Linked DNA regions of Homo sapiens: regions 1 and 2 are each linked to region 3. The links are contacts of gene promoters, found by promoter capture Hi-C in blood cells and fetal thymus (Javierre and others, 2016). All regions are on one chromosome and are shown on one strand. The core of a region is centred on a gene start or on the middle of the fragment in contact, and the rest is flanking DNA. Distances in the headings are between cores, read along the strand shown. Region 1 holds the start of ZNF70 (zinc finger protein 70). Region 2 holds the start of SMARCB1 (SWI/SNF related BAF chromatin remodeling complex subunit B1). Region 3 holds the start of GUCD1 (guanylyl cyclase domain containing 1).

Region 1 (3,470 bases), core at 904-3,403, 800 kb after region 3:
ACCAAGCCTTCACAGGGCAGGGGTGGGAGGGAAGGGGCTCAGGCTGAGTGGGTTTGTGTCTCGCAGTTTCCCAGACAGTCCTGGCCCAGCTGGATGCACTGCTGGTCTTCCCAGGCCAAGTGGCTCAACTCTCCTGCACGCTCAGCCCCCAGCACGTCACCATCAGGGACTACGGTGTGTCCTGGTACCAGCAGCGGGCAGGCAGTGCCCCTCGATATCTCCTCTACTACCGCTCGGAGGAGGATCACCACCGGCCTGCTGACATCCCCGATCGATTCTCGGCAGCCAAGGATGAGGCCCACAATGCCTGTGTCCTCACCATTAGTCCCGTGCAGCCTGAAGACGACGCGGATTACTACTGCTCTGTTGGCTACGGCTTTAGTCCCTAGGGGTGGGGTGTGAGATGGGTGCCTCCCCTCTGCCTCCCATTTCTGCCCCTGACCTTGGGTCCCTTTTAAACTTTCTCTGAGCCTTGCTTCCCCTCTGTAAAATGGGTTAATAATATTCAACATGTCAACAACAGCTATTGTGAGGGTCATAAGATCCTGGCTGAGAAAAATGACTGTGGTGGGTCTGGGAGTCGAAGACCCACTCCTGGGGTGGGGAGCAGTGTGCGGGGGAATGGGGATTCTGGGGACTGTTGTCAAAGAGGAAGCACCTGAGACTATTGGGGCATGGCCCAGACTCCCCCACCATGGCCCCCTGGGGGCTCAAACTGGTAGCCTGACCTTCCTGTGACCTGAGGAGCCGGAGGGAGAAAAAGGAACCAGCCCTTGCCGCCCCCAACTCTGCATGGCTGGTTATGGTCCAAGGGTTATGGCTCTAGGGTGGCTGGTCCCCATGGAGCTCAGGCTGTTGGCTTGGGGAGGGGCAGCCACTGCCTACCCCTTGGAGTCTGTGCCCAAGGCCCGACAGAGCATTAATGGGGCAGGAAGGCAGGTGTGTGTGGGTAGCATTGGAGGCACTCGAGCGCCAAGGCTGAGGGTGCTGAAGGCAGGTGGGCGGCTGGGGCAGAATCCTTTTTCCCAGGGACAGTGTGTTCTCCTGATGTCCTGTGATTGGGCCAAGGTCTGCGGAGGGAAGCTCTCCCACAAGCTGGGCAGCTGCACCTGAGGGGGGGGTGTCATGGGCAGAACACTGGGTGGAGGGGCCAGTCTTGCCATCAGCAGCAAGGAGGGGGCGGAGATTCCTTTTCTTTTTTTTTTTTTTGTTTTTTGAGATGGAGTCTCGCTCTGTCGCCCAGGCTGGAGTGCAATGGCACTATCTTGGCTCACTGCAACCTCCGCCTCTCAGGGTCAAACGATTCTCCTGTCTCAGTAGCTGGGATTACAGGCGCTTGTCACCACTCCCGGATAATTTTTAGTAGAAACAGGGTTTCACCATGTTGGTCTGGCTGAGTCTCGAACTCCTGACCTCGTGATCCACCCGCCTCCGCCTCCCAAAATGCTGGGATTAAAGGCGTGAGCCACCGCGCCCGGCCAAGGGGGCGGCCATTTCAAGAACACATTCCTCTTCCCTCCCGGTGCGCCTGAGAGGAGGCGCTTCATGTCGAAGTCAGCCCTGGGATGCAGAGAGTTGGGGGGCTCAGGGTCCTGGGATGGTCTCGCAGACACTCCTAGTTCTTCGCCTGCCCCTTCTCATCTCTATTTCTGTGGGGGCGGGGAGGGCAGACAGGAACAGGGCTACCCTTGAAGCAGGTTGGGGGAGGGGGATCCTAACAGGACCCCGGTGCCTGTGGACAGTGACAGGGTCGACAGCTCTGGGGCTCCACTCTCCTTTCCCTGAAGACCCCAGCTGCCTCAGTGGCTTCTGGCTTGCACCCAGCACCAGCGCAGATGCCCCGAGTGCCGGCGGCTCGAGGTCGGCCCGCCCGTCCGGACCTGTTTCCTCCTCTGCTCTCCTGCCAACGCCTGCCCATCTCTGTTTCCCCCACGTCCAGCACGCGCTTCGGGGACGGCCAGAGCCACCATGCCGACTGGAGAGACTCTCCTGATTCGGGTCCTTGTGTCCCGGGGCCCGGGCGGCTTCGCGCGGCGACAACCGGCGCGGTGGGACCACCGAGACGCCGGGACCTCCGCGCGGCCTAGAGTGGTCCCGGAAGTGCCCGCGGGCCGGGGGCGGGGCTCTGGGTGCTCGGGCGGCCGCGGGCTCCGCGTCAGCAGCTGCTGTGGAGCCAGGCAGCGTCGGCCGCGTCGGCCGCGGGTTGGAGCAGCTCAGGTGCGGCCCCGCCCCGCCCGCCTGCGGCCCCGCCCCGGCCCAGGTGAGCTGCCCCGCCCCGGCCCAGGTGAGTGGCCCCGCGTCCGCCGGTGTGACCTGAGTCCGCCTGACCACCTGTCCCTCCGGTGGCCCTGGGTGTGCGTGTCCCCAATCGCGGGGAAGCCTGTAGGGGCGCCACGTCGCCGCCTGGGCAGCGTGTGCGGGTCCGTGGCAACTCTTGGGCCCCCAGCCAGGAAACCTTGACTGCACTAAGAGTTTGCAGGGTGCCCAGGCCCTAGGGACTCTCTGGAGGATGGGATGACAGATGCAGGAGGACCCGGAGAAGGCCCCGACAGAGGTGGGAAGCATGGAGTTCCAGATCTTTGCATTTTCGGTCCAAAAACACTTATCATGTTGTGGGAGACAGATAAAGGGTTGCCAACTTTTTTCTGAGTGGAGACTTCAGGGTGTAGGGGCTATATAGTGGGAATGGAAAACCTCTACGGAGGGAAGTTTGAGAACACCAGGACTTAATGGGTGGGCGGAGGAAGAGTTGCAATCTAAAGATATCAAGAAAGAGAACTTGGAAGCCATGAAAATTGGGAAGAAAGCGAGGGTGGGGATGGGGTTGGGGGGTAGCTCAAAGCTTTCATGCACCTAGGTAGGCAATGTGGGCGGGTGAAGGGATATTGTCACATCTTCGTTTTTCAAGAGAAAGCCAGAAACCTACTGAGTTTTAAATATTGGTAACTAAGGAAAATGAACAGGAAAAGCCAAACTCTTCGAGAGCCAAACATAACATAGCAGGATCTTCAGGCTGCCAATTTGCAACCTCTGAAATGAAGGGTTTTGAGAAGGAGGTATTGGAGAGCAGTGCCAGATGGGGTGGGAAGGTGAAGACCGAGAAGAGAGGGATTGGCAATAAGGAGGTCATAGAATGCCAGAGCTGAGGTCCCAGCTGAAATCGGAAACTCGAAATTTGTCGTGGTGCCATACATAGTTGTATGATTTTTCTTGGCAACATTTAACAACTTAGGAGGAACTGGCCGAGAAGACTGGGACTTAGCGGCTAGTTGCAGCCGGACGAGGAGGTGAGGAGCATGGTGCTAGAGCGTGAGAGTTGAAGTGATGCGCATAGTATGGAGAGTCTAAGCTGGATGGAGAAGGGGTGGAGCTAGAAAAGGAGAACTACAGTAAAAATGGCTTGGATTTCATGAGGTCGAAAAGCACAAATTGAGTGAGAGAGCTGGAAGAGTTGGAGATTATGGGTTGCT
Region 2 (3,538 bases), core at 12-2,511, 770 kb after region 3:
GCCTTTGGAGCAAAAAAGGCTAGTTTGAGACAATCTGTAAAAACCTAATATATGGCCGGGTGTGGTGGCTCATGCCTGTAATCCTAGCACTTTGGGAGACCCAGACGGGCAGACTGCTTGAGCCCAGGAGTTGGAGACCTGCCTGCGCAACATAGCCAGACCCTGTCTCTATAAAAAACAAAAAACAAGAACCTAATAGACTTGGAACAAACACCCATTCAAAGGCCAGTAGAGTTTTCCTGAAGTCAGTCATCCAGTTGATGCAACAAAATGCAGCCACTCTAGTTAAGGGTTAAACATCCTTAGGCTCTTTCCCCTGTAATAATTCAGAATCAGTTCACAGATATGGAAAGTGTCAATCGCTTCAGAACTGCTGAAAGATCTAGCTTAGGCATGGGGCCCTTATTCACCCAAAAGCAAACATCTTCCTCCAATCTGTTTCTTCACCGGTAAACAAAGGTCAAAAGACCTCCACTGCTCACCTAAGAGGCAACAAACACAATGGGGATGAGCCCTCACTAAGTCCAGGGTTTCCAGCCTGCCATTTGAGGTTCCCACAAGTAGCAATACGGGGAGGGGTGCACGTGAAATTTACGACATCTAAAAAGGGTCAAAGGCAGCAGTGCAGTCCCCCAAGCGTCGCAGGGGCTAACTCAATATCCCGTTTCTTTGCGTCTGACTGGAAACCAACCCAGCGCGGAACCACTGGGGCCCCTCGCGGCGCCAAAATCTTGGCAGCACTGAAGGCGGCGGACCTCGGCGAAATAAGTAAGGAAATCCCAGGTCGATGAGGGGGCGGGGGCCACACCCGACACGCCCACTAGGCCACGCCCCACAGCCCCGAGCGCGCGCGCGCGCGCCCGCCCGCCCCGATGAATGGAGACGCGCGCTCTCGGCGCATGGGCCCGCCCCGGGGCTCCCGCGGGGCCGAGCCCGGGGAGGGCGAGAACGCGCCCCGGGCTACCTCGGAGCCGATCATGTAGAACTCGCCGTCGTCCTCCAGCTGGAACTTCACGGGCTTCTGCCCGAAGGTCTTGCTCAGCGCCATCATCATCATTGCGGCGGCAGAGGCGGGCGGCCGGAGCCGGGCTGCGAGGGATCAGGAGGGCTGGGGCGGGGCCGGGGCGTGCTGGGCCGAGGGAAACCGAAGCCGGAAGGCGAAATGCGGACCGGGCCGGGTACTGGCGCCTCAGCCGGGCTCCTCAGCCGCCGCCGCCGCCGCAGACGACGACCAGGCCGCCCTCAGTGCGCAGGCGCTGGCGTTGACGCTGACGCGCGCGCCGCCGCTCAAACAAAAGGCCGGGCGCGCCTCCGCGGACCCCTTAAAGGAGCCACGACTAATTTCTCTTTCTCCCAGGCTGCCTCCCAAGTCGTGGTGTAGAGGACTTCTCACGGACAAAAATAGCCAATGAGGTCCTGACTCAAGCAGTGGCTTTCCCAGTCTTACAGCCAGGACTGGAACTGAGCCCAGGGGAAAAGCAACGAAGTGAGGCCTGAAGGAGGAGGACCTAGTATCTGGAAGCCTGGGTGGTCTGGGCATGCTTTGGGACCCCAATCTCGTGCCTTAGCTTCCCCACCCCTAAAACGCAGTGCAGCTGAGCAGATAGGCAGGCCCCTAGGAAGAGATATCCCAGTTCCGGGCCTACGGCTGTCCCTGCAGCTGTGGAGGTGGGCAAAATGACAACAGCGGATGAGGCTTGGCAATGTTCAAAGGCCCAGGTGGTATTTGGTTTGGCTGGTGCATCAGATGAGCGTTGGAAGGGAGAGACACCTTCCACCTTCTCCATTCCTCTCTTAGCCTACACTCTGCTTAACCGAGCCCTGCAGTGGGGAGTGAAACCAGGCAGCCCAGCCCTGTGGCTCTGCCTCTTGGCTCTTACAGCGCGAAGCTAGTGAAACTAATGAAAGTCTGAAAGCAATCATGATTGAATAATGCAGGGAGTAAAACAGTGGCCCACTACTGATGATTTCACACCGTTCAATCTAATGAAATTGCAGCTGTGGCTGGGCTCAGCGGCTCATGCCTGTAATCCCAACTCTTTTTTTTTTTTTTGAGGCTGGAGTCTCCTGCCTCAGCCTCCCAAGTAGCTGGGACTACAGGCACCCGCCACCACGCCCAGCTAATTTTTTGTATTTTTAGTAGAGACAGGGTTTCACCATGTTAGCCAGGATGGTCTCGATCTCCTGACCTCGTGATCCGCCCCCCTCGGCCTCCCAAAGTGCTGGGATTACAGGTGTGAGCCACTGCGCCCGGCCTTGTAATCCCAACTCTTTAGGAGGCCAAGGCAGGGAGGATCACTTGAAGCCAGGAGTTTGAGACCAGACTGGACAAGACAGCAAGACCCTGTCTCTACAAAAATTCTAAAATAAATAAGCTGGGTGTGGCATGGCGGTGTGCACCTGTAGCCCCAGCTACTTGGGAAGTGGAGAGGGGAAGATCCCTTGAGCCCAGGAGTTCAAGGTTATAGTGAGCTGATTGCACCACTGCACTGCAGCCTGGGCAACAAAGGGAGACCCTGCCTCTCTTAAAAAAAAAAAAAATGCAACTATGCTATTACGAAGACACACATGGGGCTGGAAGGTAGGGCAAGGAGACACTGGAGAGTTGGGAAGGGCAGTGACTGAAGTTGCTTTGTTCTGTATCCTCACAGTGGTGGGAAACCAAAGTACAGTCATCCCTCAGTATCCATGGGAATTGGTTCCAGGACCCCCTGCAGATAATAAAGTCCACAGATGCTCAAGTCCATTATATAAAATGGTGTCATACTTGCATATAACCTACACACACTTTCCTGTATACCTTAAATCATCTCTAGATTCCTTATACTACCTAATACAATGCAAATGTTATATAAATAGTTGTTATACTATTGTTTAGGGAACAATGATAGGGAAAAAAGTCCGTACATGTTCAGTACAGAGGTAACCATCCCTTATTTATTTATTTATTTATTTATTTATTTACTTATTTTATTGAGACAGAGTCTTGCTCTGTCGTCCAGGCTGGAGTGCAGTGGCATGATCTGGGCTCACTGCAAGCACCGCCTCCTGGGTTCACGCCATTCTCCTGCCTCAGCCTTCCGAGTAGCTGGGACTACAGGCGCCCGCCACCACGCCTGGCTAATTTTTTGTATTTTTAGTAGAGACGGGGTTTCATGGTGTTAGCCAGGATGGTCTCGATCTCCCGACCTCGTGATCTGCTGGCCTCAGCCTCCCAAAGTGCTGGGATTACAGGCATGAGCCACTGCACCCAGCCTATTTATTTACTTTATTATTTTTTTAGACGGAATTTTGCTCTTGTCACCCAGGCTGGAGTGCAATGGCACTATCTCAGCTCACTGTAACCTCTGCCTCCACGTTCAAGTGATTCTCCTGCCTCAGCCTCCCAAGTAGCTGGGATTACAGGCATGAGCCACCACACCCAACTAATTTTTGTATATTTAGTAGAGATGGGTTTTCACCATGTTGGCCAGACTGGTCTCAAACTTCTGACCTCAGGTGATCCACACACCTCGGCCTCCCAAAGAACTGGGATTAC
Region 3 (3,889 bases), core at 962-3,461:
ACCATTAGCCAATACTGTGTGTGTCAGGGGAGGGGGACTGGAATGTTAATTTGTTGCACTGTTATTTGTTAACCCTTAATTGTAGATGATTACGTTTTGAGAATAATACAGGCCCGAGCTGTCCAATACAGCAGCTCATGTACACACGTAGCTATTTAAATTAAACTTAACTAAAACACAATAGAATTAAAATAAAAAAACCCAGTCCCTCAATCCCAGTGGCCATATTCCAAGTCCTCAACGGCCACATGTAGCTAGTGGCTACCCTATGGAAGGTGCAGATACAGACCAAAGGACCATGCACATCTAGGAGAGCAGGCTGTACTTTTAATTCAGCCCTTTAACCCTTCACTTATTTTACTATCAAGGATATTGAGAAAATATCAAAGTGACAACGTGCTATATGCAGGAAATGCTTGTCATGGAGGAAAATCAGGGAAAGCACCTGACTTGACCTAATCAAAAGCATCAAGCAGTGAACTTTTTATTGAGATGAGCAACAACTCTAAGTTTCAACTTAAGCGTACCTAAGACAGGAGAACATGAGGTTGAAAGGACAGGCTCCTTTGGTGAGGATCCCTGGCTTTCAGCCTTAGGAGTCTAGATTTTATGCTGAAGGTAGTGGAGAACCACTGCAGAATTATATGTAAAGAATGACGCAATGAAAAGATAGCAGCATTTATTTACAAAATGGATAGAACGTAAGGTTTAGAAGCAGAGAAACTTGTTAAAACTTCTGCAACAGTTAAAACTGCTGCAACAGTGTGGAAAGCATGAGGGGACCATTGCCTGAAAGGGGACTGGGGCAGAGATACAAAGAACTTTTTAAAAAATGACCGGCTGGGCGCGGTGGCTCACGCCTGTAATCCCAGCACTTTGGAAGGCCGAGGCCGGTGGATCCCTTGAGCCCAGGAGTTCGAGACCAGCCAGGGCAACATGGTGAAACCCCGTCTCTACTTAAAAAAAAAAAAACAAAAAAAAACTCATAGGATTTGGGGGAAGGAGATAGTCAATCAGAAATGACTTCGAGATTACTGCCTGGAAGCTTTGAAAAACACTCACCTGGAGAGATACAGAATGTGAGAAGCATGCACGTTGAGGGGAAAGCTAATGAACTTACTTCCAGGAGCTAGTGAGGCGACGCTGATGTTTGGGTGGCCCAAGCTTCCCGCTTTCTTCCCTCCCCGAGCCCCGCAGAGTTCCATGCAGCAAGTCTTTCTCCAGCCCCTGGCCCCTCACAGGCGCCTCGACCTCCCCTCGCCCGTCCCCAGCCTCACCGGCTCTGGCCTACTTTTCTTCTCTTCGGTCCGCTGCGAAAGATGCTACGGCGAAGGCGTGAGTCAAGCGAATGGCGGGCCTAACACCCAGAATTCCACTCTTTCCCAAAATGCTGCGCGCAGGGCCCGCCTCCTTCCTTTCCCCAGTGTTGAGCGCGGTCTCGCCTCCGCTTCCTCCTCACTCCGCCTGCCGGCTGGGAAACTAGGGCACCAGTACGATAGTTCCGGCACCGGAAAAGAGGGCTGATGACTGGGCCCGGGGGCCGCCGCAACGACCCTTGGGGCCGGCAAAGAGCCAGAGAGGGTGCTCACACTTCCAAGCACCCCACACCAAGGACAGGCTGGACGGCAAGGCGGAGACGCGGGGCTTGGGCCCTCAGACCGGGGACAGCAGGAGGTTGGGCCAAGGGCCAGGACTTCCCGTCACAATTTCATTTGTTGATCCCGGCACCGCCAGGTAAGGGGGGCCCTGAGTGAGGCTAGGTATCTGGTACGGATAAAGTTAGGTATAGAGTAGAGCGGCTGCCCGCTCAGGGTTATCCCTAAAGACAGTTGGAGGAGAGTTGCTTGGGGCCTCGGGGATGCACTGGGCGGGATCAGGGCTTACACCTAGGACTGGCAAAAGAGCGGGACCCGGCAGAGGCGGGGCTTGCCGAAGGGACGAGCCTCTATTCAGGAAATGCACGAGCTTTGGGGCGGGGCTCAAAGAAAGGGGCGGGGCTTCCGGGGCCCGCGTCCTGGTGAGCTGCGCGTCTGCGCGAGGATTGGGCGAGAGGGTGGGGCCACTCAACGCTGAGGCGGCGAATGGCCGGAGCAGACTTAAATCAAGAGGCTGGGGACCTCTAAGATCAAAGTTTGGGGCGGGGCCTAAGGAGGGGGCGGGGCCTCCAGATTCGAGACCTGGAAGGGCTGGGGCGGCGCTTGGGGCGGCCCAGCCGCCGCCTCCCGTTCTCTCCTCCGCAGCGGCGGCGGTGGCGGAGAAGGAACTCGACACGCACCGACCGCCCTCCCGCCCCAGCCGAAGCGGAAGCTGTAGCCCGCTCTGGGCCGGGGCCATGGGCGCCCCGCGCCGCCCGGGTCATGAGGACGGAGGCGGAGGCAGCGGGGCCGCCGCTCGAGCCCGGTCAGTGCCTCTCTGTGGGCCCAGTCTTCACCCTAGGAACGAAAGGGACCCCTCCCTAGCGCGGGGCAGGGTCCAGTCGCGCGACCTTGGGCCGACTCCCGCCTCGCCCCCACACCCGCCTGGTTCCAGTCAGTGGGGGTTTCCTGACACTCGCAGGATTGCGACCCTTGTCAGCATGGTGGGAAGGTCCGGGTAGCAGGGGCACCACCTTCCCCAGAAGCGAAAAGTCCTGCTGGAGCCGCCTTGGGAGCTCCCATGCCTTGGGAAACCGTGGAGGACTGAGGCTGGGAAGGGCAGGAAACTGGCCGAGAGCACCGAGCAATGGAAGGGCCAGTGCCCTGGCCTCCGAGACTCGGCGTTTTGTCTTGCTCTTGTTCTTCACTTTCGTTCTCTCTGCCACGCGGTAGCCTGAGCCCCTTTGGGGCGGAGACCCGGACTGGTATTCAATGTCTTGGCCGTTAGTTTGCTTGCCCAAGACGTAGGGGAGGGGGAAGACGTGATTCCTGTCCTGCTGAAGGCGCGGGGTTGATGACAAACGGAGTTCTAGCTAGTAAACTCTGAAGTGAAGTGCCAACTGTGGAAGAGGTCAACAGCATGTGGGACCCTGACCTTCAGGTGTCACTCCCAGGGAGTGTTCCCTTTTGTGTCTGCTGTGTGGAGTTGGTGGGGGATTTACAACCCTCCTCCTCCAGTTGTCTAGCCCTGTGGTCTGAGACAAGATACTTGCCTTTCCTGAGCCTCAGAGGAGGAATGGCTTACATTCACAGGGAGTGTTCTATGAGGCAGGCGCGCGCTGCGTGCAGTTGTTTACATGCAGTGCCTCATTAATCCTCATAACGAACCAGTGAAGTAGGTGCCCACTGTGATTTGCACTTTTGCAGCTGAGCAGACTGAGTCTGAGATGGGTTAAGTATTAAAGGCTAGTGCACTGCTTGCCTTCCTTAGTGACAGCCACTAACTGAGCTCAGGCCAGGGCCTTCCAGGCAGCCCTTTGGCTCCAGGCAGCAACGTCTGGCTGTGGCTTTGTGTTTAGAAGGCTAAAGCTGTTATGGGGACAGATGCCAAGGCCTCGCCTAACCTTATCACCCCCAACATGAGCACCTCTAGGTCCGATCCGCCCTTGCCGAGGCTGGAGATGGCCCTGTGGGGCCTGCCAGGCCTCAGGATCAAGGAGTTCTAGAGCGCAGGGCAAGAGGAGGAGGCGCAGCTGAGTCTCTGAGAGAGAGCTGCTGTCTTGTGCCACATTTTATAGCTGGACATGGAAAGGCATGGACAGTCATAGCCTGGCAGAAGATAGCCCAGCTAGTCAGTGTCACAGCCCAAGCCACAGAGTAAGGAGGGAGCCTCACACAGAGGGCTGTAGTCTGGAAGCCTGGGGGAGGAGGGGTGCAGAGCAGGGAAGTGACAAGTAGGCCTGGGCATCTCAAGGTATGAGGTCTTTTTGGAAAACGCCTTCCATTCCCCAAGCATATCTAAGTGCCTACTCTGG

Evidence for each region. The method cuts DNA at HindIII sites, captures the fragments that hold promoters and counts their contacts. A CHiCAGO score of 5 or more calls a contact.
Region 1: the fragment with the promoter of ZNF70 here is called in contact with the fragment with the promoter of GUCD1 in region 3 in 1 of 17 cell types (total CD8 T cells); the score reaches 5.0 in total CD8 T cells.
Region 2: the fragment with the promoter of SMARCB1 here is called in contact with the fragment with the promoter of GUCD1 in region 3 in 9 of 17 cell types (non-activated CD4 T cells, activated CD4 T cells, erythroblasts and 6 more); the score reaches 10.5 in non-activated CD4 T cells.

What each region holds. Positions count from the first base shown.
Region 1 is chr22:23,749,795-23,753,264 of GRCh38, reverse strand. ZNF70 (zinc finger protein 70) reads left to right here and starts at 2,153. Exons shown (of 2, transcript NM_021916.4): 1 at 2,153-2,554. It overlaps VPREB3 (V-set pre-B cell surrogate light chain 3), which reads left to right. Exons shown (of 2, transcript NM_013378.3): 2 at 67-522. The coding sequence ends at 389. RefSeq lists enhancers at 1-367, 878-937, 1,778-1,837, 1,720-2,395 and a silencer at 1,988-2,437. The HindIII fragment of the contact is 6,484 bases long and covers 1-2,844 here.
Region 2 is chr22:23,784,689-23,788,226 of GRCh38, reverse strand. It overlaps SMARCB1 (SWI/SNF related BAF chromatin remodeling complex subunit B1), which reads right to left and starts at 1,261. Exons shown (of 9, transcript NM_003073.5): 1 at 965-1,261. The coding sequence starts at 1,057. The HindIII fragment of the contact is 10,586 bases long and covers 1-3,538 here.
Region 3 is chr22:24,553,460-24,557,348 of GRCh38, reverse strand. It overlaps GUCD1 (guanylyl cyclase domain containing 1), which reads left to right and starts at 2,211. Exons shown (of 6, transcript NM_001284254.2): 1 at 2,211-2,400. The coding sequence starts at 2,358. SNRPD3 (small nuclear ribonucleoprotein D3 polypeptide) reads right to left here and starts at 1,350. Exons shown (of 4, transcript NM_004175.5): 1 at 1,278-1,350. RefSeq lists an enhancer at 1,543-1,642 and a silencer at 2,103-2,462. The HindIII fragment of the contact is 4,396 bases long and covers 1,167-3,889 here.